Regions from separate parts of the Homo sapiens genome. Here all the other regions are linked to region 1. The links are contacts of gene promoters, found by promoter capture Hi-C in blood cells and fetal thymus (Javierre and others, 2016). All regions are on one chromosome and are shown on one strand. The core of a region is centred on a gene start or on the middle of the fragment in contact, and the rest is flanking DNA. Distances in the headings are between cores, read along the strand shown. Region 1 holds the start of MED30 (mediator complex subunit 30). Region 2 has its middle 32 kb from the start of EXT1. Region 3 overlaps EXT1 (exostosin glycosyltransferase 1). Region 4 overlaps EXT1 (exostosin glycosyltransferase 1).

Region 1 (6,585 bases), core at 1,113-3,612:
AATCAAAATGATACTTAAATGAAAGAGAGGCAGAGGACTCAGAACCAGAGATATGGCATATTCAACTAGCCAATTCTGGCTTTGAAAAGGATGAAAGCTGGTTTTTGCAGTTGGTGGAAGTGGTCATGAGCCAAGCAATTGCGGCAGCCTTCTAAAATCTGGAAAAGACAAGGAAACAGATTCCTTCTGAGAGCCCCCAGAAGGGAACACAGCCCGCCAACACCTTGAGCGTAGTTCAGCGAGAACAATTTCAGACTTCTGAGCTAAAAAGCTATAAAATAATAAAAGGTGTGCTGTTTTAAGCCACAAAGTTTGTGGTAATTTGTTACATGTGCAATAGGAAATTAACATAAGGCATAATTTCTCGGAAACTTATTTTTTCTTCAGTGTATCCTGTCTTGGTAAATGACATAAACTTCACCTGAAGTTTCACATGAAAGCAGAAATACGTGCCATCCTTAATTCTTTCCTCTCCTTAATGTTCCTGATCCAGTTACTATCAAGTTCTCTAGATTCTACTTACTAAATATTTATTCAAAGTTACCCTCTGTCTCCTTTCTCTGCACAGGTCATGATCATCATCATCATTCCCCTTTGGGAGAGAAGACAATAGAAACCCACCATCTGTTCCCCATTTAGCAACCAGAATAAGTGTTCTAAAATGAATATTTCAAATTATTCCTCTCACCTTGAAACTCTTCAATGGCTTGCTATTTCACTCCATAAATTCTCAACTGCTTGACATGGGTTAGAAGATCCTCCAGGGTTGCCTCTGTCTTCAGCCTTATTTCCTAACACTCGTCCTCACACTGAACTTCTTCCAGATCCTAGAAAGCATTAGGAGGCCTCTTCACTTCAGGTGTTGGCACTGGCCTTCCTCGTCCTCATAGAAAAGACTCTATCATTCGTTACTCCCTTCCCTATCCACCTTCAGGTTCCACACTGCTCCCTTCAGGTCGTTCTCAATCTCCTAAATTGTTAGCACCCTGATATCAGGAACTTTTGCTTCAAGACGCTCATCACAATAGTGTTCTGTTTGTCCCCATGACAAACATGCTGCAGGGCTTTTGCCTGGTTTGTTCAGTACGCTATCTTCACTCCTAGCACCCAGCACATAATAGGTGCTCAGCCAATATTTGTCGAATGGTAATTACCGAAGACCTGCGAATTACTATGTTTAAAATCTCTACCAGGGTTCCTATGACATATTTAGTAACTATTTCCTGGAAAGTCCGTACAATGGAGCATTCAGATACTTCTAAAAAATGCAATGTTTGTGCCTATCACTAATTTTACATTCTTCACTTTTCCCCACTTTGGAGATGAACAGTAAGTGAGAGACATTGTGAGAGACATTTTAATTTCTCTTGCATTTATCATGTCACTCAACAATCATTCAATAAGTATTTATTGATACTTGTGCCAATCACTAGGTGTTGAGAATAAGTGAATAAAATAGTCTGTTTTCATGGAGTTGGCAGTGTGTGTAGATAGGGTGAGATAAAGTCTGAAAGTAAACAAACTGAAAGCTATATAAAATATCAGACAGTAGGCCGGGCGCGGTGGCTTATGCCTGTAATCCCAGCACTTTGGGAGGCCGAGGCGGGCGGATCACGAGGTCAGGAGATCGAGACCATCCCGGCTAACACGGTGAAACCCCGTCTCTACTAAAAATACAAAAAATTTGTCGGGCGTGGTGGCGGGCGCCTGTAGTCCCAGCTACTCGGGAGGCCGAGGCTGGAGAATGGTGTGAACCCGGGAGGCGGAGCTTGCAGTGAGCCGAGGTCGCGCCACTGCACTCCAGCCTGGGTGACAGAGCGAGACTCCATCTCAAAAAGAAAAAGAAAAAAAAATCAGACACTAATAAGAGCCAGAGTCAGAAAGAAGTGTGTGTGTTGATCATTTTTTTTGCTTACAGATACTGGGAAAACTCAAAGAATAAAACATCTGAGCAGGGACCAAGAGCAATCGGGGAGTCCGTATCATGTCACAGAGAAGCGTACAAGCTTAGGAATCTTGTTTTCTGAATTCGAATCGCAGGTTGCCAGTTACACCTGTATGCGACTCAACAAGTACTTTAACCTGTCTCTTAGCTGTTATACTACAAACCTCAGGCTTGTTAAGAGAAAATGCTCCGCAAGGAACTAAACACAGAAGGTTCTAACGCTGAGCCAAGACTGGGAAACGAACTCTGGGAACTCACCCCAGGCTCCCCAAGAACATCGCCCCTCTGGCTGGAGCGCAATTGGTGATTGGCTACTTAACCCGTCCGTCCTTTCCCGCCCAGGGGTCCAATCCAATCCAGCCCGGCTCCGCTCGGAGACAGTTCGCCGAGTGGGCGGTGTCTATGACGTTTTCTGACGTGTTACGTCACAGTGGGCGGAAGTCGCGGCCGCTGTTTTGAAATCGGGCCGCGGGGGGTCTCTCAAGCTGGTTCCAACGCTGAGGCCCCACAGCCTCCCAATTCCGGGCAGACCCCTGACACCTGCTGTCTGGCCCCTTCCGGCCTGAAGCTGCAGCCGCGCCATGTCCACCCCTCCGTTGGCCGCGTCGGGGATGGCGCCCGGGCCCTTCGCCGGGCCCCAGGCTCAGCAGGCCGCCCGGGAAGTCAACACGGCGTCGCTGTGCCGCATCGGGCAGGAGACAGTGCAGGACATCGTGTACCGCACCATGGAGATCTTCCAGCTCCTGAGGAACATGCAGGTAGGAAGGCGGGCGCGCGAGGCCAGGGGGATGCAGCTGGGAGGGAAAGGGCCTCTGGTTTCCTCTTTACGTGGGGCCCGTGGATGTCATCGGGGCTGCCCTGGGCAAACCTTAGGTGTAGGGTCTCCCCCATTCACACTCAAGAGTGTCCCCAAAAGTCGGATTTGTAGAGGTGATGTTTTCCAGACCAGATTTCTGCAGAATTGAAGCCAATTTTTTTTAGATTCAATCGAGCTCTTTAGTTACTCTGTAAACTCTTGCACCTTTCAAGGCAGAGATGGGTCGCACTCCACTTCCCTCTTTAGGTTGCTTTAAATGTTTTTTCCAGCATTTCTTCTGGGGAGGTCCAAGGAGTTGAAGAATTTACATTTTTTTTAAAAAAACAGTCCTCCTTTTTTTGGCATAGTTAATATACAGTAAACTACACTCACCTAAAGTTTTGATATATATGTGTACTGTAGTCTGTATACTTGTGAAATTATCACCACAATCAAAATAGTGTACACATCATCCCAGAAAGTTTCTTCATACCCCTCTGACATCTTTGCTTCCCACCTTCCATCGCTAAGCAACCATTGATCTGCGTTCTGTAATCATAAATTAATTTGCATTTGCTAGGGTTTTATATAAACGGAGTCTACAGTATGTGGGCTTTTTTTTTTGTCTGAGATCCTTCACTAAGAATGCATCAATAATTTCCTTTTTATTGCTGAGTAATGTTCCATTGTATCCATGTATCACCATTTGCCTACCTTTTCTTCTGTTGATGGACATTTGGGTTGTTTCCACTTTTTGGCTGTTGTAAATAATGCTGCTATGAACTTTTGCTGACAAATTTTTGTGTGAACGTATGTGTCATTTCTCTTGGACAGATTCAGGAGTGGAATTGCTGGATCATGCAGTACATGTCTGTTTAATACTTTAAGAAACTTTTCCAAAGTGGCCTGAGCCATTTTACGTCCCGATTATTGCTAGTGGGAATGTAAACATTGCTGTTTGAGGGTTCTAGTTTCTCCTCATCCTCATCAACACCTGTTATGTCTTGATGCTTTCCAAATACTTCTCCCAGTCTATCCTGCCTTTTTATTCTCTTAATACTGTCTTTTGAAGAACAGACATTTTAAATTTTGATGGAATCCAGCTTACTGATTTGTTCTTTTATAGATTTTGGTTTTGCTGTCATACCTAAGAAATCTTTGCCTAACCCAAGGTGACAAAGGGTTTCTGTTTTCTTCTAGAAGTTTTGTACTTTCAAGCTTTATATTTAGGTCTACAACCTATATTTAGTTTTGTGAGTTTTTAAATATGTATACATAGTGGCAGATACGGATCCAAGTTCATTGTTTTGCATTTGGATATCCAGTTGTTCCAGCACCATTTTGCTGACCCATTTTTAATGCTTGCTTATATTACCCACTACATGTAGTAGATATTATTTTTGTTTTACAGATGAAGATTCTGTACTTCAGAGAGATAAAGTGACTTGCCCAAACCTAGTCAGTGGTAGGGTAAATTTGAAACCAAGTTTTCAAAAATCTTACAGCTCTTATTTCTGTGGGTGTCCAAAAAAGTGTTTTATTGCTTTTTTTTTTTTTAACTGGTCAAGACTTTTTTTTTCGTCCTGATTATAAGAGTAATTCAGTTTCGTGGAAATTTTTAAGACCATGTGAAATATAGTACAAAGGAGATCCAGGAGAAATTATGACATTCTTTGGCAATAATTTAAAAAAATGAATAGATTCATATCTAGAATGAATAAAGTACGGATTAAATAATGTCTCAGAATTTAGCATACTTTAAAAAAAATTTTGTCCTGTTATATGCAAAGCACCGAATAATACCTAACACTTACGAAGTACTTTCCTTGGTCAGGTACCCTGTTATAGGAGCAGTTTTAAGGAGTATTTTTATCCCTATTTTACAGTAAAGGAAACTGAGGCTTAATGAGAGAAAAAATAAATTACCCAACATCACACACGACTAATAGCTCTTCCTACTAACCTCTTTTTAATACTAACTTGCTGTCAATGTACATTATTAAAAGATATAATACAGGTTCATGTTCTACGCAGAACTAAACTTTTTCAAAAAAAGTATTTTATCAATAACTAGATTACATGTGGACCTGCATTCAAAGCCAACTTTTTTTTTTTTAAGTTTTTTTTTTTTGTCTGTAAGTTTATTCAATGCAAAATAATCCTCTCCAATTTTACTGAGGTGGCTGACCATGTCCACGACCAAATCCGCCTCTAAACTGGAATTCGGTTGTTGACCCAGCCCCAGTCTCGGCTTTCTTGTCGGCACCAGGGGGCACAGCACTCCGTCTGTAGGTATCTCTGTCGGCTTCCCCTCTTGTGAGTCTTGCAGGTCGCTCACCCTCCAGACCTTTAGGCTGAGGCCTGCCAGTCTCTGGACGGCTGCGGCGTAGGGTGGCAGGAACAATCTCCGGGGGCAGATGAAGGTAATCACAGAGATACTGGATACCCTCATTGGTAAGGTACCAGTAGAAATGTCTCCAGGCAAACTGTTCCTTCACGTAGCCTCAGGACTTGAGAAACTGCATGGCCTTCATGACATGAAGGTTGGACACATTCTTGTCTGCCAGCTCCGGGTGCTTAGGCATGTGGAATCCTCCTTGGCCACCATGATTCCCTCCTTAAAAAGGAGTTCATAGGCTAGGCGCGGTGGCTCACGCCTGTAATCCCAGCACTTTGAGAGGCCGAGGTGGGCGGATCACGAGGTCAGGAATTCGAGACCAGCCTAGCCAACATGGTGAAACCCCATCTCTACTAAAAATACAAAAATTAGCCGGGCGTGGTGGCGGGCGCCTGTAATCCCAGCTACTCGGGAGGCTGGGGCAGGAGAATCGCTTGAACCCGGGAGGCGGAGGTGGCAGTGAGCCGAGAGATCGCGCCACTGCACTCCAGGCTGGGCGACAGAGCGAGACTCTGTCTCAAGAAAAAGGAGTTCATAAATGGCAATACGTTTCTTCTTAAGCTTCAACATTTCGGCCACTGTAGGGTCTGGGACCCAAAGCCAGCTTTTGAGGGACTATGATAATTATATGTGTGCTTTTCATTTTGTGAAATCTGTGATCACTCATCCAGGACCCTTTGGGGCCTATCATAATTGGCTGAAAAGATAACAATGGGCTCCTTCATTTCCAAAAAAACTAGAAGAGGTGATAGAAATAGGATATTCTTAACTATATATAACCTAGTGATTTGTTAATACATTTTTAGTATTCACATTTTAAAGTAATCGTCTGTATTATTGATCTACGAGAGTAAAGTGCTGTGAATACAAACTGCTAAGAATTTTTCTAAGCATTTGTTTTAAAGAAGTGGTTCCTGGTATACACTAGATGTCCGTTAGCCACTTGAGAGTCTGATGAAAACTGTGAGCTCTCTTCTGAGAAAAATACACATACATTTTGAAAATTTCAGGGGTTAAAGGAAGATTTAGGGATACTCCCCAAGTATCCTTAAATCTCAGATTAAGAGTCCTTGTGGAAGATACCATTGCTTTTGTTCTGTTTATTATTCTTTGAATCTTTAATTTTTAAAATACATAGTACATTCAGAATTTAGGAATAAAAAAGGACAGTGCAGTGAACATTTTCCTTCCCATTCCTATCTCTTATACTATGTACCTAACTCCTCTCCACAGGCAGTGATTGTGACTGATTCTTACTATTTTTGTGTATCTTTCCAGATATTCTCTGCATATTAAGCAAATGTTTATGTATATTGTTTCATTTTCGCCTTTTTTGCACAGATAATAGTATATTATACACAACCATTTTGTACCTTGCTTTTTTCAGTTGATATATTTTGGAATTTATTCATACCCATACAGAAAATACTCCCTTATCCTTTTTAT
Region 2 (6,585 bases), core at 1,106-3,605, 620 kb after region 1:
CTTCCCTGAAGCAACTTGGGAAACCATTGCCTTGATTCATAATACAGAAGAACCCTGGCCCTCTGAGTCATTAGGAGCCTACCCCTGTCCCATGGCCTGCATCAGGTTTTACATGAATAAGAGATAAAGTTTTGTTGGGCTGAGTCACTGAGATTTCAGGGTTTATCTGTCATTGCAGCATAGCTTAGACTATCTTAACTAATAAACACTGCATTATTCATATATTAATTCAACTGACATTTATTGAGTACTCCAGAGTGTTAGTCACAAGAGCAAGAATATTTAGGAACTGGCAAAAAGATAAGCAGCTACAGAAGCAAATTCTAAGAGATATGAAATTCAAAGGACATTGTCAACACTTTTCTGGCTCAGCTTTTACGAAAGTCTTCAGAGTTCAGTAGCCCTTTGTTCAATGTAACAGAAGTACTAACTAATTTGAGACTGCCATATGTGTAGAGAAGATGCAAAAAATAAGAATAATTGTTCCTTACATGTTTATGTGCTTCACATTTACAAAGCCTGTTAGAAATGCATGGTCTCATTAGAAGTTTATCAATAAGTTTGTGAGGATGATATGTGAGGTATGATTGCTCTCATTTTACCCTGGTGGAAAATGAAGCTTGGTCAGGGGAGATCCACATTGCTGATAAATAACAGAATCAAATCTGAAGCCAAGGTCTGCTGTCTTGAGCCAATGCCCCATACACCAAGCTTCCTGCTAACAGTCTGATATTTGACTTTCCATGATGAAAACATACCAGTATAGAAATTGAGGTGTAGGTTAAGGAGGGAGAAATGGGGTAGGCCAAATAACTCTGGTGAATAGTTTTGATGTAAAGAGTAAAATTGTTAGTTCTGACTCAGTGAGTAATAGAAGCCACATAGATCTTAAACAGAGCATCTTTCTATTTAATTTACCTTTTGCTGTGCCACCTGACTCCATGGCAATTGCCAGGAAGTAAGCAAAGAAGCAAGACCAGATTTGGACATTTAAATCTTCAGAACCAAATGCAGAGAGAAGAATAACAGAGGGCTAGGAAGGGCTAGGGTCCCACCTTAGTCCTGGCCATCCCCTGTGATAGTTTCTAGAAAATTTTGGAAGATGGCCTCTCCCTGGGACAGTTATCAAAGGCATATGTTCTAGGATTGTAGACCCAGTTCATAGTAACATGAAATGATACCTTCTAGGCTCAGTAGCTAATAACCACGCAAATTTTGTGGCCCCAACTAGAGATTCTCACTACATAGCTGGAGGTTTTAGAGCCACGTAGAGACTTTGGCACCTGATTAGAAAAGTTGTTCCAAGGCCTCAGAGGGAGGCTGTGCATCTCTCCCAGGTCCTTGAACCTCTTGTTTCCAGTGCCAAAATTAACAAATGTTAGAAGCAGACTCTCACTATTCAACAATGTGTAAGCCATAAACCGAAATGACATTAACCTTTTAAGAATCAATCTCAGCATTAATCTAGCACCCACATTCCCCCTTTACCTCTACGAAAAGTCTATTTCTGCAACTTGGCTTATAGCATCTCTAGAAGTTCCCTCTTGCCTTCTATCACCTAATGTCTCTCAATTCTTCAAACCCTAACTCAGGTTTCTCTTCTTCTGGGAACCTTCTCCTGTCCATCCCTACCAAGTTCAGACCAAACATTTAACCATTCAATTCATATCTATCGAATGCTTGCTTTACTGCAGAAACTGTCTTCGGCATTGGGAACACGGTGGTGAACTGGAAACCTCAGATCAACGGGCTAACTTCCAGTCTAGCAGACCAGAGTATTTGCTTCCTGCTATCTGCTTCTATAACAAATTCAAGTACTCCTACATTGGCCCTCACAATATGCTGCTGACATGAATCCTTGGCTATCTTTGCTCAGATAAGTTCTTTGATGTCAAAAGCCATTCATGTGTCACACATTTCTGATCTCTGCAGTGCCAAGCAAAGGAGTGGGCTAATAGATGAATATCTACTAGTTTATATAAGTGACTAATACTATCCTGTGTCATAGAGCTAATGGCGGTGAGGAAGAAGAGTGAGGGAAGGGATGTGTTTAGACTTGGTTTGCCTAGAGCACAGACCCAGAGATGTGTTAGAATAATGAATAATAATAATAGTGAATAAACCACAGGCACCGGCCAGGGCCTGTTTATTACGAAACACATCAAGGAAGTATGATGGTAAACCTCTTCTGGTTGAGTAACTTAGCTTATACTACTTGTTTAAGCTCACCAAGGGAAATTCCATCATAAAACACAACTTTTTTTTTAAAGGGATTCCTAAAGGTTGACTTCTGAGTTGTGATTTCTGGGGACACAGTCAAGACTTTTGATTACCTGTACATCTGATTTATGGAGAATCATTTGTGCAAAACCAAGAGGGGCACAGTATATCTAAGAGTATAGATTCTCCTCCTTTTAGATAATGTGTACTGCAGAATTACTTATAGAATTAGTTATATAGGACCCCAAGTCAATTTACATAAATGTTTTTGCACAAATGTAAAAAAAATTCACTAAGGAATTATGGTTATTTTTGAAGCCAGATAAACCCTAATTTCACATGAAGAAATTGAGGCATAAATACCCTAAGTGACTTGTCAAAGATCATGCACTCAATTAGTGTCAAAAGCTGAACTGAAATGCAGAACTCATGGCATCTACCTGTGTACTTTGCGCCACATCACAGTAAAGTGTAAAAGCATGTTAGGGAGTTGCAAGCATGCCTTTGAAGCCGTTCTCTATCTGTCATTATAAATACCCAGACTGATAGAGCTCAGTGGTGTTCTTCCAAGAATGTGAAGCATAGACTGCAGAGAATCCACAGCAAGAGGGGTTAAAATTAAACCTGTGGGAATTAATCTCCAACTTTCTAGGCACGGGCAAAGTGAGAGTATATCAATCAGAGAAGAAAAAATGTAGAGTCCAGAAAATGAGACAATATCCTAACATGCCATAGAATATGGAAAGCACGAAAACACGGAGAGGACTGAGGTCTACGCACAGTCATTTCCCAGACCCCCAGATCCTTGTTTATTTACTCCCTTGTGTTAGTTTCTTGTGGCTGCTATAACAAATTATCACAAACTTGCTAGCTCAAAACAACAGAAATATATTTTATTGCAGTTCTGAAGACCAGAAATCCAAAGTAAAGGTGTTGGCGGGGCTGTGTTCCCTCCTAAAGTTCTGGGAGAGAATCCTTCCTCCCCTCTTCCAGCTTCTGGTAGCTCCAGGCATTCCTTGGTGTGGCTGCATCTCTCCAGTTTCTGCCTCCGTGGTCATGTTGCCTCCTCCCCTTCCGTGTGTTTTCTCCTCTGTGTGTCTTATAAGGATTCGGGCGAGGATCTCTGGACAGCATTTAGGCCCTGCCCAGATAAGCCACAATTGTCTCTTCATCTCAAGATCTTTAATTACATCTTCGAAGACTTTTCCCAAATAAAATCACATCACAAGCTCCAATGTTTGACATGAATATTCTTTGGGGGCATTATTTTTTAGCCACTCTCCCACTTCTATTATTGCACATATTCATTATTTGGGTAATTATTTTTGACAACCCTCATCCCCACTGAGAGAGTTCATGGGGGCCATAAGCCTTGTCTGTTTCACTCACTGCTGCTCCCAAAGCACCTAGCACAGTGCCTGGGACATAGTAGACATTTAATGATATTTGGTAGGTAAATAAAAATTTATTAATTTCTTATTACATATTAATTTATTGATGAAAATGAGTTTTAATTTTATTGAATTAATAACATTTTTATTAATAAAATTAATTTAAAAATTGGTGCAAGGAAGGGAGGAAAAAGGGGAGGGGAAAGAAAGAGGGAAGAAAGAACAAAAGCAAGGAAGGTGGGAAAAGGGAGAGAGAGAGGGAAAAGAAGATAAGGGAAAAGAAGGGAAGAAAATATCTCTAACTCTCACTAGAAATTCTGAGATTGGGTTAAAGGTGAGAAAAACGAGGATGCGTTTTAGAAAGCTGAAGGCCACAATTAGCAAGTGATAAAGCTTTTATTTCAACTGAGGTACTAAAAATCCATATAGTCTCCAATGCAACACAGCCCTAGTTAGATGCCAGGGTTAGGTTAAAGAGAGAGCAATAAGATTCAGAGAAGTGCATGGTTTGCTTGCCTCAAGGAGTTTGCAATCTAGTGGGGAAGTTAGCTAGCTAGATATTTCACACACACAATAATGTGGCAAGTGCCAAATAAATAGAGTCTAGATTTTGAAAGGCTTTTAATGCTTTTGGATTTTATTCTATAAAACAACATTTAGATGAGATTTCCAGGCATAAGCAGTAATATTTAAAATTTGCTATTTTGATAGTAAATAACAGTTTTATAGCTGCTGTGTAATTTCAAGTACAAATATCTATTATGACTCATGCTAAACTACATTAGCCCATGGGATTATCCTAAGGGGTAAATTATATATTTGGCATAAATCCAACCATTGGAAAATACTCACTTGAAAAATGCTCAATTATGTCATTCTTGAAGTGCATTTTATAAATAAATCTGAGTCTTCAAATCAGAATGTTCTTGAATGTTGACCAGCACCTGTGAATTATATAAGATCAAAACATCATTCAATGTTGAACACTATCTTGAGTGTTCATTCATTCATTCAATCCTTTCATAGGTGTTTATTGAGATCCTACTGTGTGTTGTTCTGGGAGCTGGAGGTAAAATTTGAATAAGAATGTAGTCCCTACTTTTAAAGGGCTCATTGTCTATGTTATCCAGATTCTCCAGAAAGCAGATGTAGGTGACAAAGTAAGGATTTCAGGAGGCTTATTGGAGAGTAAGCCGTGAACGTGAAAGGGTGAGGAAGCGGGATTGGACAAGGGAATCCTTTATGCCAAAAAGCAGATATGACATCTGTCAAAGGAAAGAGGGAGGAGGCAGGATGAGGAAGAGAGAGCCTCAGACTACAATGCAGATCTGATGAAGTCTTAGCTGACCCAAAGATTTCCTGCTAAAGGAGTCCTGAGTTGGCCCTGGTGCCACTGTTATACTCGGTCATTGTCTGGGGCTGCCCAAAAAGATCGTGGCCTCAGCTTGAAAGCTGAGGCAGAGCTTGAAGGCATTAACAGCTGGAGGCTGTCAGCTAACTGCACTCCTTGCAGCTAAATAGCCAGTTCTTTCTTGAAGGGAGATCAAAGCGATGCAACCCCATGGCTGCCACATAGTGTGATCAGGATGAAGGCCAATAAACAGGCAATTTAGGTCCAGTAAGGGTAATGACAAGGTGCCATGGGAGCTTAACCATGGAGCACCAAACTCCGACTTCGGTACAGGAAAACTTCCAGGAAGATGTAGGGTTTAAGAGGATGCCTGGATTATAAGTAGGAGTTAGCCAAATGAAGGAGGCAGGGGTAGGCAGAGAGTGTTCAAGGCAGGAGAACATGATGTACAAAGCATTGTGGGAGAGAAAGCATGGCACATTTGAGAACATAGCAAGACCTGCTGTATGATTTTAGTATCACATTGCAGGGAGGTGATAGCAAGAGACAAAGCTGGAGAAGTACATGGGGGTAAAGAACGGAGGGCCTTGTCCACCCCATTAAGAAATTCAGGCAGCATAACCACATACAATATGGCCTGTAGATTTGAACACACAAATACCAACAATTTTTCCCCATTAGACTTTGTAGAGCATCCTGAAGACCCCATATTCCAATTCTCTGTGTTTAGATACTAGTGATCCATAGGAAAACACAGCTATGTTGCCTATGAGGAAGAATAACATTCATTATCACCCATTGCTCGTTTGTCCACTATTTTTATTCAAGGTTACACAGTCCATCTCCCGGTAGGAGAGAAATCACAAGACTCATAGGTTTGGTTGGAGAGAATGGGAAGCATAGAGCCAAGGAGCTCTCAGAAGCATCAGACCAAGGCAACAGAACAAAAAACTGACGAGCCACACTGGGTTTTGAGTATCACAATAGGGCCTGGAAAAGAGCCAAGAATGTTTTTTGCTACTTCTAACTTAGAGGGAAGGATTTTTAAAATGAGCCCTGGGATTTCACTTATATGTTCCTATTCTGAGAAAATAATCATAAATTTGAAGATTTATAATGATTATTGAGGACAGTAATGATGGCTAAACTCTAATTGGTGATTGCCATTTCCATGCTAAATGGTTCACACTTGATTTTATATAATGCTTAGAACAGCCATGTTGTACCTAAGAGGCAGGAACTTTTTTTTTTTGAGACAGAGTCTCATTCTGTTGCCCAGGCTGGAGTGCAGTGGCATGATCGTGGCTCACTGAAAACTCTGCCTCCTGGGTTCAAGTGATTCTCATGCCTCAGCCTCCTGAGTAGCTGGGATTACAGGCACACACCACCATACCTGGCTAATTTTTGTATTTTTAGCAGAGATGGGGTTTCACCATGTTGGCCAGGCTGGTCTTGAACTCCTGACTTCATGTGATCCACCCAGCTCAGCCTCCCAAAATGTTGATATTACAGACGTGAGCCACCACACCCAGCCAGCAGGAACTATTAATTGTTCTCATTTTTCCTAGGATAATTTTTTTTTTTTTTGAAATGAAGTTTCACTCTTGTTGCCCAGGCTGGAGT
Region 3 (6,585 bases), core at 1,961-4,460, 560 kb after region 1:
AAAGCTTAGAGTTCCTTTTGATGTCAAAAACACAGAAAGTTCAAAGGTTAGACAGCCACTCAACAGTATGACAGGCCTAAAACCTGAACAGGAAACTCATTTCTAAACTTACCCGTAAGGTATTGCAATCCTAAGGCCAGAGTGGCCAGGCATTGTTCAGCCGGCTGGTGTTTTTGTACTTTGCCTAAGGATTTATTCAGAGGGGTGACAATACCTGCCTCATCACCAAGGAGAAACATTCTTTTGGATACAAAGAATCCCAGCCATTTCTTCTAACACCGCCCCCACCCCCACCCCACCCACTAATTAGTTTCTCAACATTCTGGAAGGCCAAAGACCCTAGTCAAGTTGAATAGCCCCGGATTTAGCCCACATTATGTTCTATCTTGCACTTCACACCCCTCCCAAAATTAAAAAGAAAAGAAAAAACATGAACCACATTGGATGTAGTCAGGAGGAGGATGGCTGCAACAAGATTTACTTGGAAATAAGAAATAACTTCAATAGAAAGAAAGAAGTGGCTAATCATATAGAAAAGGTGTCATTTACAAAAGGTTACCAGAGGCATATAAACTCAGGGAAGCCAGATTTTGGCATACAGTGTGAGTCATTCCCTTATTCAATAAACATTCCCTAATGCCTCCAGGCACCCTGCTAGGCACTGGTTGAAAAGGCAAAAGTGGTCTCTGTTCCCAAAGAGTTCACAATGCAACAGGGATTTGAACTGGAAATATGAATATGAGTATCTGTTTGGTAGAGACCTCAGACAATCATCAAAGCAATAGAGAAAATGGTATGGAGGACGCCTCCACAAATTCAGATCATCTGTGTTTTCTGAGTTGTTCAGCTGATAAATGTGACTTGCCTTTTATCATCAACAAGAACTTCGTACCACCCTGAAATCTGATCAAATACTGTTTCCCTGAAATAGGAGATATCATCCATTTTTTAACCACTCAAACTTCTTCTCTTATCTATTAATTTCACCATTCTTTAGATTCAATATATCAAGTCTGGAAACTAATAGATGAATTAAGTAAATAACTGCCTTTTTTTTTTTACCTCCCATAAATTGGATCCAGTTATCAGCAAAACACTGAAGTTCCCTGAAGAAGTTCTGGTGGAGACTGAAACATTAGTTTTTAAAGGAGATTAGTTTTAATCAAATACTTAACCTTTTATATCACTTGTAGTTTAAATGGTATTCTGCAGGCGTTGGGCATAATCAAAATGAAATGCATTTTTCTCTGAAGGTAGTTCTTTTAAAACTCGGCCAATAATAATGCCTTTTAAAGTGCAAGGATTTTTGCCACCGAAAGAACCTGAGCAATGAACTTAAAACTACATTTTTAAGTATATAGATAAAAAGCATACCTCATCTATTATAATAGGTGGAGCAAGTGTTGGCCCTCCTTTACTAAATACAGAAGTCTCATACTATGAGAGGCACTTCAATGCAGTGGGAAGTCATAAAATGTGGTTCCCATTCTGGTTTCTTCACTAATTAACACATCATCTCTCCATGTCTCAGCTTCCTCATAACCCTACTCTTCAGCAGGCAGATAAGACCATTAACTCTTTTGGAGGGCTAGGGGGGAGGGTGGAGTCCTAAAATTCAATGGATAATAAAACTAGTTAATATTTAGGGAGCACTTATCTTATGCCAGGCACTGAGCAAAATGCTTTTCATTCAGTATCTCATTTAATTTTACAGAGCAGCACTAAAAAGACAGATACCAGAATCACCATTTTACCGATGAGGAAATGGGGGCTTAGACAATTAAATGACACGCAAAAGGATATCAAATACTCATAACCACTAACCTCAACCATTTCCCCAAGCCTTGAAGTTCTCACTAGGTCATGCAGGTAACCAGATTCCAACTGATTTTTAAAATACACTGTTTTCCAGAAAAAGAAACATTTTGCAGTATTTTTACATAAGATTGCTGAATGTCAATTCTGCATACTTTTGCAATAAGAAGGTTTCAATCAAACAATTTCTCTCTTTGTTTTAGCTCCAAGTAGATATACTATGCATAGATAACTGCTTCTAAAGTCAGAGCAGTGTTCTGGAATGCAGAACCAGATCATCTGCTAGGATGTACATTTTCATCCCCAATGTCTACAGAACAGGTATTTGGGGGTCTTACCTTTCATAAAGTGTTTTCATCACAGAAGCTGCCCCCAAAGAAGATGAGGAAGCAGATATCTAAATAACTGTACCTCTTCCTCAGTAGTCTTTCTGATCTTTGCCCATCTGCCTTTCATCCCTGCATATACTGAGTCCCAGGAGGAGATGGGGAAAAGGGGATTACAAAGAAATTGCCACTGTCATTTAATGAATTGATGCTGGCGTGCTTTTAATAGCCCCATTTAATTGTGCAGTCGTATTTTCTGCAGAAGCCCTCCTACCACTAATGTATTAACAGTCTCTTACCCTGCCCCGGGGAATTACAACTGCTCCATTTTCTCCTCTTTCAACCCAGTCTGTACATTATTTGCCTTCCTCTTAAAATTGTCACAAAAACCGAGAGCAAAACAAAAAATTGCAAGGTTTTAGCCAGATATAAGGTAAATATATGAAAATATGGCATTTAACTGCTGGGGGAAACAAGAGTCGGGGAGTTCTTGTAAAAGAGGAGTGTGATTAACAGTATAAAAACGATCAAGTCCTGCGGCCACAATCATGGGGACAAGAAATGTTAATTTCCCGTTATTTTAAAACCATAACATCATTGACTCCATTACAGAGAACTGATGGCAACATGTGACCTCAGACTAGGGGAAGGGGATGGATTTTCTCATCCTAAGATACTATGCCAGGCCAAAAATAACAAAATGCATTAAAAATAGCTGAAGTCTTAACTGAGGCCTGTTGTATCCAGGGATATATTTATTTCTAAACTTTCGCATCATGCACCATAACACAATGCAAAAAGAACAATTCTCATGTAAGTTTCACTATTGTCCTAAAAAGCATTGTTCTTCACATCTGAGAGGAAAAAAAGTTTCTAAAACTAGACATCATGAAAAGGCATCTTAAGATTACGGCTGGAAATCTTTTGATTTTATTATTTGGAAAATTCTAAATTTATTTTCCAATAAGATCTTTCTGTTCTTTCCCCATCATACTAATACGAATAAACCTCCCCCAAAATAAAACCATTATAAGGTGACAATAAGATTGAGTAATCCAAAACAAGGATATTTTAGCAGATGTCCAGTTTCTTTTAACAAGAAACAGATGGGCAAAATTTAAGTAAATGTGGGGTATCAATTTCTATACAACAAATGAGTTCCAAACTTACAGGTAATGCAACCCAAAACACCAGGCCAAGCTAACTATAATTATATAGTGAGCTGAACACGTTTTCTTTTAATTCCATTTCAAATGGTTTTCTCACACGTCTTTCCTACCCACATGCCCGGTGAAATCTCTGCTGGTCTTCTGGACTTCATTTTAATTTCCCTCACTCATTCTAAATTTCTTCTGAAATTGAAAATAGAGAAGAAAGAATTAAGTTTGGAGCGAGGGAAAGAAACCAGAAATTTCAGAACAGTAAGGCCAGCACTACTGATTACACTCTCTTCCAATCAGTTTCTCAATCTCTGTCACCAGGATACGCCCTGGAGTATGTACTTATAGCCCAAGACATTTTTACACCTCTTATAGTTGATTGACAAGACCAATTGACAGTTAAACTGGTGGGGCTTGCGAGATGGAGAAACAGACATATCTCCTCATTTTAAGCATACAATTTGATAAAATTCCATCTCAGGATATAATGATACTTTTAGCTAAACTCTGGTCTTGAGGAATTTAAGAACCAAATTTGAAGTTTAGACTTGTGAATGAGCCTAGGACACAAAAAGCACTTAATAAACGCATACTCAATGCCTGAGTGAATAATCTACAGAACAGTAATCTCCACAATTAAAGAACATTTATGGAAGACACTGTACTATTTAATACTCTCCATCGAGTCCCCATTGCTCCTATTATATCTGTTATGAATATATCTTCTTCTTATGTGGCTAATCACCCACCAGTCACCATAAGTGTTTAATGATTCAGGTTGTCAAGGCCAGCCTGGCCCTAATCCATATTCTGAATATAAAGAATTCAAGAACTAAACCCAGTATCATTAGGCAGACAGGTTCTCTGCCTATGCCCTAGGTGACACCTCAACACCTCTCTTCCTAATCTAGTTTAATAGGCTCCTAAGACGCCACACCCTTTCTGGTGTTCTTACTGCCCAGCACAGTCCCCAGGACATAGTAAGAAGCTCAATAGAAGTTTTCTAAACTCAAGAATCAAGCACTATTGACCAAGCTATTGGTCAATGGGTCTCAATAAGAAAAGAGGGAGGCGGGGCGCAGTAGCTCATGCCTGTAATCCCAGCATTTTGGGAGGCCAAGACGAGCAGATCACTTGGGGTCAGGAGTTCGAGACCAGCCTGGCCAACATGGTGAAACCCCATCTCTACCAAAAATATAAAAAATTAGCCAGGTGTGGTGGTGGACACCTGTAATCCCAGCTACTCCGAAGGCTGAGGCAGGAGAATTGCTTGAACCCGGGAGGCAGAGGCTGTAGTGAGCCAAGATCATGCCACTGCACACCAGCCTGGGTGATACCATCAACCAGTCTGGTAATGATTTATCTTTGACCTAGTAATCCCACTGGAGTGGATCCTGAGGAACTTATCTATTAGTTTGGAAGACAAATGAGGTAATATACAAACCACTGATCTAATCACCAAGCTCTCTCAGTCAAACTGAATGGGAGAGATTCAAGATCCTCAACTAGGACTTTTATAATAACCTAGACCAAGACTGTCTGGTGATCACAGAGTATACAGAGTTAAGATGCAAGGAACTCTCCCAAGCTAGAATAAATAGGACTTGCTAAAGTGACTATGTCCCAGATGCTACCTCCTGGGATCAACTGCAAGTCGTGTCATAGGAATTATCACAGAGCACAAAGTCTGTACTACCATAGTACTTGTCATAATGCATCTTGTTCATGCTTGGTTGTGTGCACATCCATCTCTTTCACTGGGCTGCAGGCTCAAAGACTGCAGGGATCAGATTTTCATGCAGCAATTCAACAACCAAGCAAGAAACCAAGCTGGGCATGTTATATAATTCAGTCGTTATTAAGCCTGCCTGACAGAGCATCAGGGTCACTTGTAAAACCTTCAAAACCCAAATGCCCAGAGCCCAGCTCCTCGAAATGCTGGGTCCACATATGTCAGTGTTTTGAAAAGTGCTTAAGTGACTCTGGGAGCACAGTCCAGGCTGAGACCTAGGGCATGGCATTAGGGAAGCGTTTGATTCCAGAGCCCAGTTCATGCGGTGTTCAAATCCTACTCCGCCCCTTATGCTTTGCACGACTCTGGGCAAGTCATTGAACTCAAGTCTTGGTCTCACTTTCCTCATCCGTATTAATAAAATGGAGACTGGCCTAATGTACTCAAAGAGCTTTTGCAAAAATTAGATGAAATAGTGCATGTTAAGTATACTGCCTTCTTTATCCACAGTAAGTACTTAATAGATGACAGATATTCGGGCTGGGGGCCTAAAGCCCAGTGCCTTACACAATCCATATTGTATTACAATAGATGTTTATGGAAGGAAATGGGATGAGCCTTTATGGCTAACAAGGTACAGATGTTTCGATTGTTAAGCATCATACACCATCAGGTACCACTCTTCATCCAAAGATGGTGTGACAAATTGACAAAGGGTTAGGAAAAAGTGTTTAGAGAGAGGTGGGTAAATTCAACTTGGCTATCAAATGTATATCATATAGAAACAAGGATGCTGAGGTTATTAAAATAACCTATTTGCTACAGCCTTGGTGTCTGTCCTCTCTCCCATGGGAACAATGGGAGGAAGGGTGAGCAGAAGAAAGAGTAACACCCTCCAGGTTGTGGTACTATTGTGTGTTGCCATTTTGTTATTAAAGCCATATACCATAGCTTAGGCGTGGGGGACAACAATAAGTGGCATCGGGCCAGCTTCATCAGAAGGTTAGTATTTCCTATAGATTTATGGTACCTAAAGGGTTGTTTTGTTTGTTTGTTATTGGGGCTGTTTTTGTTTTTTTTTTTTTTTTGGTTGATTGGTCATCTTACCAAAGAATATGGGAACATACTATATTCAGAGCCTACTGAAAGACAATGCCATTTTTACAGTAGAAGTCACTGGGGAAAAACAATTTGCTTAATAAACATTCACTTTACTGCAAACTTTAAGGGAATGCATCCATTACACAACTGGGAACAAGAGCCACATGTTCACATACACATATCTATCCTATGTTACTCGTGTGTGTGACGGAGGCAAAAAAAAAAAGCAGTGTTTTTACTGAAATAAAAATGTACCTGTTTTGTTGCAGAGCCTTGAAAAAGAAAAGCTTAATCCACTCTGCATTTTCACAAGCAACAAATTTTGTGTCACTGTGTATCCTCTGATAATCTATTTTAAAGGAACATTTCAAGCACCAGAAAAATAAAAGAAAAATATCCCTTAGATGAATCTGACTTGTAAATAAGGAAAGCTATTAAGTGCTTACTGTTT
Region 4 (6,585 bases), core at 2,844-5,343, 540 kb after region 1:
TAGAGATTGTGTTTGGTTTGGTTCAAGTACAACCAGCAAACACATTCAATAGAAAATGTGCTCATAAAATTGTCTCTCTCTGTAGAATCACGGGATGGCTCGTTACATTCCTAAAACCATTTCATAACCCATTGATTCAACACCACAAGCTTTTTACAAAAATGTCCAAACATAAAAAGGTAAATTCTCCCATGATGGCCTCCACACATCTGGAGGTAAGTGGTAAAACTGGTGAGGTCCTGTGGTAATTTGAAAAGTACTTTGTTCAACTTGCACCTCATTATTCTGCAGCAAGTCATCTGAAAGGGGGCATGCTAAGCAAAATATGAATATGTTTAGTTGGTAAGCCAAATAACATTCCTAGATTTTAAAAGCAACAGGCTGACTTCTAGTAAAATGTTCAGTAAACAGTTATGCATCTTTGCAAAAGATTTGTAGATCAAAGAGTATTTGGATTCTGTGTCCCTTAAGAAAAATTAATAGCAAAGACACTATCTCCGTTTTACAGATTAAGAAGTGGAGCAACTGGATAAAATGACAAGATGCTTTGACTGAATCTCTTAAAAATTCAAAACTCCAAAGTATTACTATCTTGATAAGGAAAGAAATTCCACAGGAAACTTAGAGAGAGAAAATGGCTTGCAATGGTACAGCTTCATTAAAAAAAAACAAGAGACACCAACTGTCAGGTGACATTCACTCATTTCTAAAAATTAACTGAAGAAACGTGGACACGTGTTCCATGACTTCCAGCTTTCTGGTCATTATGGTTTCTGCCTCTCAGCAGTCCTTCCCCGTTGACACAAACTCCATGAAACAATCATCGGAACGTCTGCTAAACTACATGGACAGCTCACTGAGTTGCTCAAGAAATGTTTAGGTAGAGGCCAAGTAAGTTTCAATCTCCGGTTAGCCTAGAGGTCCAAAGATGAAAATGTTGTATCCTAGTGAAGGTGATGGGCTTGCAGACACAGACTTCCCAATGCTGTGCACTTCACGCTATATACAAAGACCACTCAAGGACTCAGGAAGCAGAGGAGAAACTAACCAGGCCAGCCTTACGTGGACACTATTCCAAGACTCCACAAAGTGAGAGGATTTGGTCTAAATACATGACTGAAAAGAGTATCACCAGCTTGTGAAAAGACCCCCGTCTTTTTCACAAGCCATTCAAAGTGGAAGGAATCATATGTTAACAGCCCAGAGATGCGAAATATTCACAAGGAACAGTAGTGGCAGTAAAGATGACCTGGGAAGAATAATTAGGGTCAGTTTAGAAAGAACTATGTCTCAAAGCCTGGGGTTTTGCCAGCAGGAAAAGGGACGGTCCAGAAAGCTTTTAAACAGGAAACTGGCCTAACTGGATCACTGTTTTAGACAGAGTTGTTCTATATGTGGACTGAACAAAGCAAGGAAACTGCATGCTAGACTAGTTGCCAAAAACAAGACTATATAATTTATTCTGTTTAATGTGTCTTTGCTACTCATCCTTCCCTTCATTTCCCTCAAACACCTCATAACTATGACTAGGTCACTATAAATTCCTAAACTCAAAATAATATGGATGCTCAGCTTTCTGGAACATTAAGGGTGCAAATCTGGAAAGAAGAAGGAGAAAATGTCTCATTTCTACCTGAAAGAAAACATTAAATACAAACTTTTTGACAGATGATGGTTTCTGGAGAATTTTTTTTTTTAACTTGAGTTACTTTTAAAACTTGTCATCACTGACAAGCACAAATTAGGTGGAAATTCATTTTTTAAAAAAATAGACAAAGTGGTAGAAATTAAGCAACTGGCAGTTATAGTAAAAAAAAAATTCAAGTTCTCTTTTAAAACAAAGAAGTGCATATCTGCTTAGTAACTATAGTGCTAATCAAGGCAATCACACATCATTCAAAGTTATCACAAACCCGTATTTTCCATTGCCATTCATCTAGGAGTTTCTGTATGAAAGGTACAGACTTTAACAAGGCTTGCAGTGTTCATTGAAAGCAGCTACTTATTTTTCCACCTCCCACAAAAGAAGATGAGGCATTTTCCTAAGCTTTGCTGAAGTGCCAACTGCGAGTCACACAATCACAGTCTGGACAGAGGTGAACCATGACAACTGATGGGACCACCTACTTCACAACATTCACTAACATACCTGCCACATGCATGCAGATGCTGTGCTCTTGTTAGTCTTGAAAATGAATTGCTTCAGTTCTCTGTGAGAATACTGAGGGGTCTGTTTAAGCATGACAAACTAAAAATCCTCTTACAAACACTGCTGCGATATTAGCTACCATCCTTGCTTCGGTTTACAACTAGACTCTCCTGTGAGATCACAGACAAATTCAGCAGACTGTTTTGCTGTAGGTTTTACTTTAAGTATTAACTTCTCAGATCTTACATTATTATTATTTCATGGAGACAAACATCATACACTTAGTAAGACCAGAGCTACACTTTATTTATTTACTTATTTATTTATTTATTTATTTATTGAGACGGAGTCTCGCTCTGTGGCCCAGGCTGGAATGCAGTGGTACAATCTCAGCTCACTGCAAATTCAACTTCCCTGGTTCAAGCGATTCTCCTGCCTCAGCCGCCCGAGTAGGTGGTATTATAGACATGTGCCACCATGCCCAGCTAATTTTTGTATTTTAGTAGAGATGGGGTTTCACTGTTGGCCAGGCTGGTCTCAAACTCCTGACCTTAGGTGATCCATCCGCCTCGGCCTCTGAAAGTACTGGGATTACAGGCGTGAGCCACCGCGTCAAGTCGCTACACACTTTTTTTCTTTTTCTTTTTTTTAATACTTTAAGTTCTAGGATACATGTGCAGAATGTGCAGGTTTGTTACATAGGTATACACATGCCATGGTGGTTTGCTGTGCTCATCAACCCATCATCTACATTAGGTATTTCTCCTAATGCCATCCCTCCCCTAGCTCCCACCCCTTGACAGGCCCCGGTGTATGATGTGCCCCTCCCTGTGTCCATGTGTTCTCACTATTCAGCTCCCACTTATGAGTGAGAACATGCAGTGTTTGGTTTTCTGTTCCTGTGTTAGTTTGATGAGAATGATGCTTTCCAGCTTTATCCATGTCCCTGCAAAGTACATGAACTCACCCTTTTTTATAGCTACATAGTATTCCATGGTATATATGTGCCACATTTTCTTTATCCAGTCTATCATTGATGGGCATCTGGGTTGGTTCCAAGTCTTTGCTATTGTGAATAGTGCTGCAATAAACATAAGTGTGCATGTGTCTTTATAGCGGAATAATTTATAATCCTTTGGGATTATACCCAGTAATGGGATTGCTGAGTCAAATGGTATTTTTGATTCTAGATCCTTGAAGAATCGCCACACTGTCTTCCACAATGGTTGAACTAATTTACACTCCCACCAACAGTGTAAAAGTGTTCGTATTTCTCTACATCTTCTTCAGCATCTGTTGTTTCCTGAATTTTTTTTTTTTTTTTTTTTTCTGAGATGGAGTCTGTCACCCAGGCTGGAGTTGCAGTGGGACAATCTCGGCTCACTGCAACCTCTGCCTCCCAGATTCAAGCGATTCTCCTGCCTCAGCCTCCTGAGTAGCCAGGATTACAGGTGCCCGCCACCACACCCAGCTAATTTTTGTATTTTTAGTAGAGATGGGGTTTCACTATGTTGGCCAGGCTAGTCTTGTACTCCTGACCTCAGGTGATCCACCCGCCTCAGCCTCCCAAAGTGCTGGGATTACAGGCATGAGTCACCGCCCCTGGCCTTTCCTGACTTTTTAGTGATCACCATTCTAACTGGTATGAGATGGTATCTCATTGTGGTTCTGCTGTGCATTTCTCTAATGACCCATGATGATAAGCTTTTTTTCATATGTTTGTTGGTCGCATAAATGTCTTCTTTCACACTTTTAAATATGCTTCTAGATGGAGTCTTTGAAAAGGCTCTCAATTTCCCAGGAACCAACAAACAGATAACATTTCAGAGACTCTGAAGTGGATACAAGGAAAGATCAGGTGAGGAACTAAACTGTGGCAAAACAAAACAAAACAACAACAAAAACCAGACCAGAAAAACCAGGAACACCATGATTTCACAAAGTTGCATCAAAAAAGTTGTCAATTTTCTTCTTTTTCGTCTGGTTGCAAATCAGAAATATTTAAAAGTTTTAATTCAGAGGCTTCCTTCACCAAATGAATCTAAGAATCTGGTATGTGTTGTAAAACTGCATATTGTGTTGGGCATTCAGGAAAAAAATTCTCTGTACATTTGAACTTACACTTTGGGAAATTGCTAAAGGTAGTTTTAGTCATTCACATTCCAAACCAAGCACGACCAAAAACAAGCTTTTAAAAGTTCAAGCATATTTGTGTATTGGGAAAAGTTAGGAATGTAATATTTAGTGGGTGGGCATTTTTAAATAATGTACTTGTCCCAAATCTTCCACTGCACAGCAGAGCTGCAGAAATGGGCTGGAGTCCTCACTCTGCCGCTAAGTATCTGCCTGACCTTGGACATGGGACTGAGGTCTCTCAGTTTCAGTTGCACATTTGAAGAGAAAGAGGAGGTGAGAAGAAACTGGACACAAAAAGTCTAAAGGCCATTCCAGTTCCAATAAGGTTACTGTCCAGTACTATCTTAAAAGTTCTCATTCAGCTATCACATCTGTTTGAAAATTAACTGTAGAGATATGAGTTAATCAACTATAGTTGGCCCTTGAACAACATAGGTTTGAACTGCTCATTCCCACCTACATGAGGATTTACTTCCACATCTGTCACCCGCAAGACAGCAAGACTAACCCCTCATCTTCCTCCTCCTCAGCCCTACTCAACATGAAGACAATGAGGAAGAAGCCCTTCATGATGATCCACTTGCACTTAATGAATAGTAAATATATTTTCTCTTCCTTATTATTTTCTTAATAACATTTTCTTTTCTCTAGCTTTATTTATTTATTTATTTATTTATTTATTTATTTATTTATTTATTAGACAGAGTCTCACTCTGTTGCCCAGAGCTGGAGTGCAGTGGCATGATCTCGGCTCAAGTAGCCTCCGCCTCCCGGTTCAAGCGATTCTCCTGCCTCAGCCTCCTGAGTAACTGGAATTACAGGTGCGCACCACCCACACCCAAAATAGTTTTTGTATTCTTAGTAGAGATGGGGTTTCACCATGTTGACCAGGCTGGTCTTGAACAACTGGCCTCAAGTGATCTGCCCGCCTCAGCCTCGTAAATTGCTGGGATTACACATGTGAACCACAGCGCCAGGCCCAGCTTGCTTTATTGTAAGAATACAGCATATAATATATAGAACAAACAAATATGTGTTAGTTGACCATTTATGTCATCAGCAATGCTTCCAGTGAACAACAGGCTATTCATTGTTACGTTTTCAGGGAGTCAAAAATTATACATGGTTTTTCAGCTTCACAGAGGGTCAGCACCCCCTAATCTACATTGTTCAAGGACCAACTGTACTTGTAGATAAAGCTAAGCTTTCTGGAAATAAAAGTTTTTTAAAAAATTAAAAGCTAATATTATAGATGTTTTGCTACCCAATATGTGCTTAACAAACGTCTGCTCATAAATGATGAAGTCAAATGGGGAATAGACAGCTGCCGTCTGTAAGTCTCTGGTAGATTGTTTGTAACATAGCCACAATTCTCTCCCTAAATGCACACTGTTGAACAATCCCCTCTCTCACTGACTCTAGGTTTAGCCAGGTAACTTGCTTTAACCAAAAGAATGTAGTAGAAATGACACTGGGAGACTCTCAAGTCTAAACTTCAAGAAGTCTGGCATTTTTGAATATTGTCATCTTGGGGCACTGGTGCCATACAAACACACCTGAGCTAACTGGCTGGAGACGTCTTCCTCCTGGAGTACCTATACCACCTCCAACACTGTGTCTGGCTCATAGCAAGTGTTCATTATACTGCGGTTCTTACTTATGCAGGCATAGCTTGGACTAGCTGAAGGAAGAATGTGGTGTGAAGTAACAAAGAAGAATGAGGGGAAGGAATACATGGGCTGGATGGAAGCAGGTGCTATAGCATTCACTGGATGACTGACTGCTTGAGAGAGCCACTATTCTGTTCCTTGTCTAATGAACTTTCCAGGATGGACATAGTACATAACAGAGCCTAGCTTTAAACTAGACTATACACACCATAGCTGAGGAAATCACACCAACGTGAAGCGGTTTCATCCTACATCAAAGCAGTGGTCAAGTCAATACTAATTGGAAGTTGCAAGAATTATCCTCTCTCAATTATTAAATTAACGATCCAGCAATCTTAACTCAGCAAGGATAAGACCAGTTACATGCTACTTGGTTTTTAGAAACTGCACATTAAATCAGAAACCTAATCTTAACATAGGCTACTTCTGCTAACTCTCTTTTAGCTTGGTGACATTTGTGTTGATTCATGATTCATAAGCCCCATGCTGTAAGCTTTGCAGGGCTGGATCAACAGAGTGATGGCTATTAAAGGGAAATAAATCATTTATTTTCCCACTGTGGAAGGTAAGCTTAAGTCACCATCTACAAGACATAGCCATGGTGGCACATTTTCAGAGCATTTGCAATAT

The links. The method cuts DNA at HindIII sites, captures the fragments that hold promoters and counts their contacts. A CHiCAGO score of 5 or more calls a contact.
Region 2: a contact is called between a fragment that was not itself captured here and the fragment with the promoter of MED30 in region 1, in 1 of 17 cell types (monocytes). The highest score is 8.3, in monocytes.
Region 3: a contact is called between a fragment that was not itself captured here and the fragment with the promoter of MED30 in region 1, in 7 of 17 cell types (non-activated CD4 T cells, total CD4 T cells, naive CD4 T cells and 4 more). The highest score is 8.9, in non-activated CD4 T cells.
Region 4: a contact is called between a fragment that was not itself captured here and the fragment with the promoter of MED30 in region 1, in 1 of 17 cell types (monocytes). The highest score is 10.5, in monocytes.

What each region holds. Positions count from the first base shown.
Region 1 is chr8:117,518,351-117,524,935 of GRCh38, forward strand. It overlaps MED30 (mediator complex subunit 30), which reads left to right and starts at 2,363. Exons shown (of 4, transcript NM_080651.4): 1 at 2,363-2,703. The coding sequence starts at 2,527. It overlaps LOC105375716 (a long non-coding RNA gene), which reads right to left and starts at 2,370. Exons shown (of 7, transcript XR_928569.3): 1 at 2,204-2,370; 2 at 689-827. It also overlaps the pseudogene RPS10P16. The HindIII fragment of the contact is 1,953 bases long and covers 2,005-3,957 here.
Region 2 is chr8:118,140,829-118,147,413 of GRCh38, forward strand. It overlaps a transcript of SAMD12 not described here. Among named protein-coding and RNA genes, the nearest start is that of EXT1, 32 kb to the left of the region's middle. RefSeq lists a silencer at 1,782-2,076. The HindIII fragment of the contact is 3,293 bases long and covers 710-4,002 here.
Region 3 is chr8:118,079,375-118,085,959 of GRCh38, forward strand. All of the region lies in intron 1 of EXT1 (exostosin glycosyltransferase 1), which reads right to left. Among named protein-coding and RNA genes, the nearest start is that of EXT1, 29 kb to the right of the region's middle. The HindIII fragment of the contact is 6,417 bases long and covers 3-6,419 here.
Region 4 is chr8:118,061,396-118,067,980 of GRCh38, forward strand. All of the region lies in intron 1 of EXT1 (exostosin glycosyltransferase 1), which reads right to left. Among named protein-coding and RNA genes, the nearest start is that of EXT1, 47 kb to the right of the region's middle. The HindIII fragment of the contact is 484 bases long and covers 3,852-4,335 here.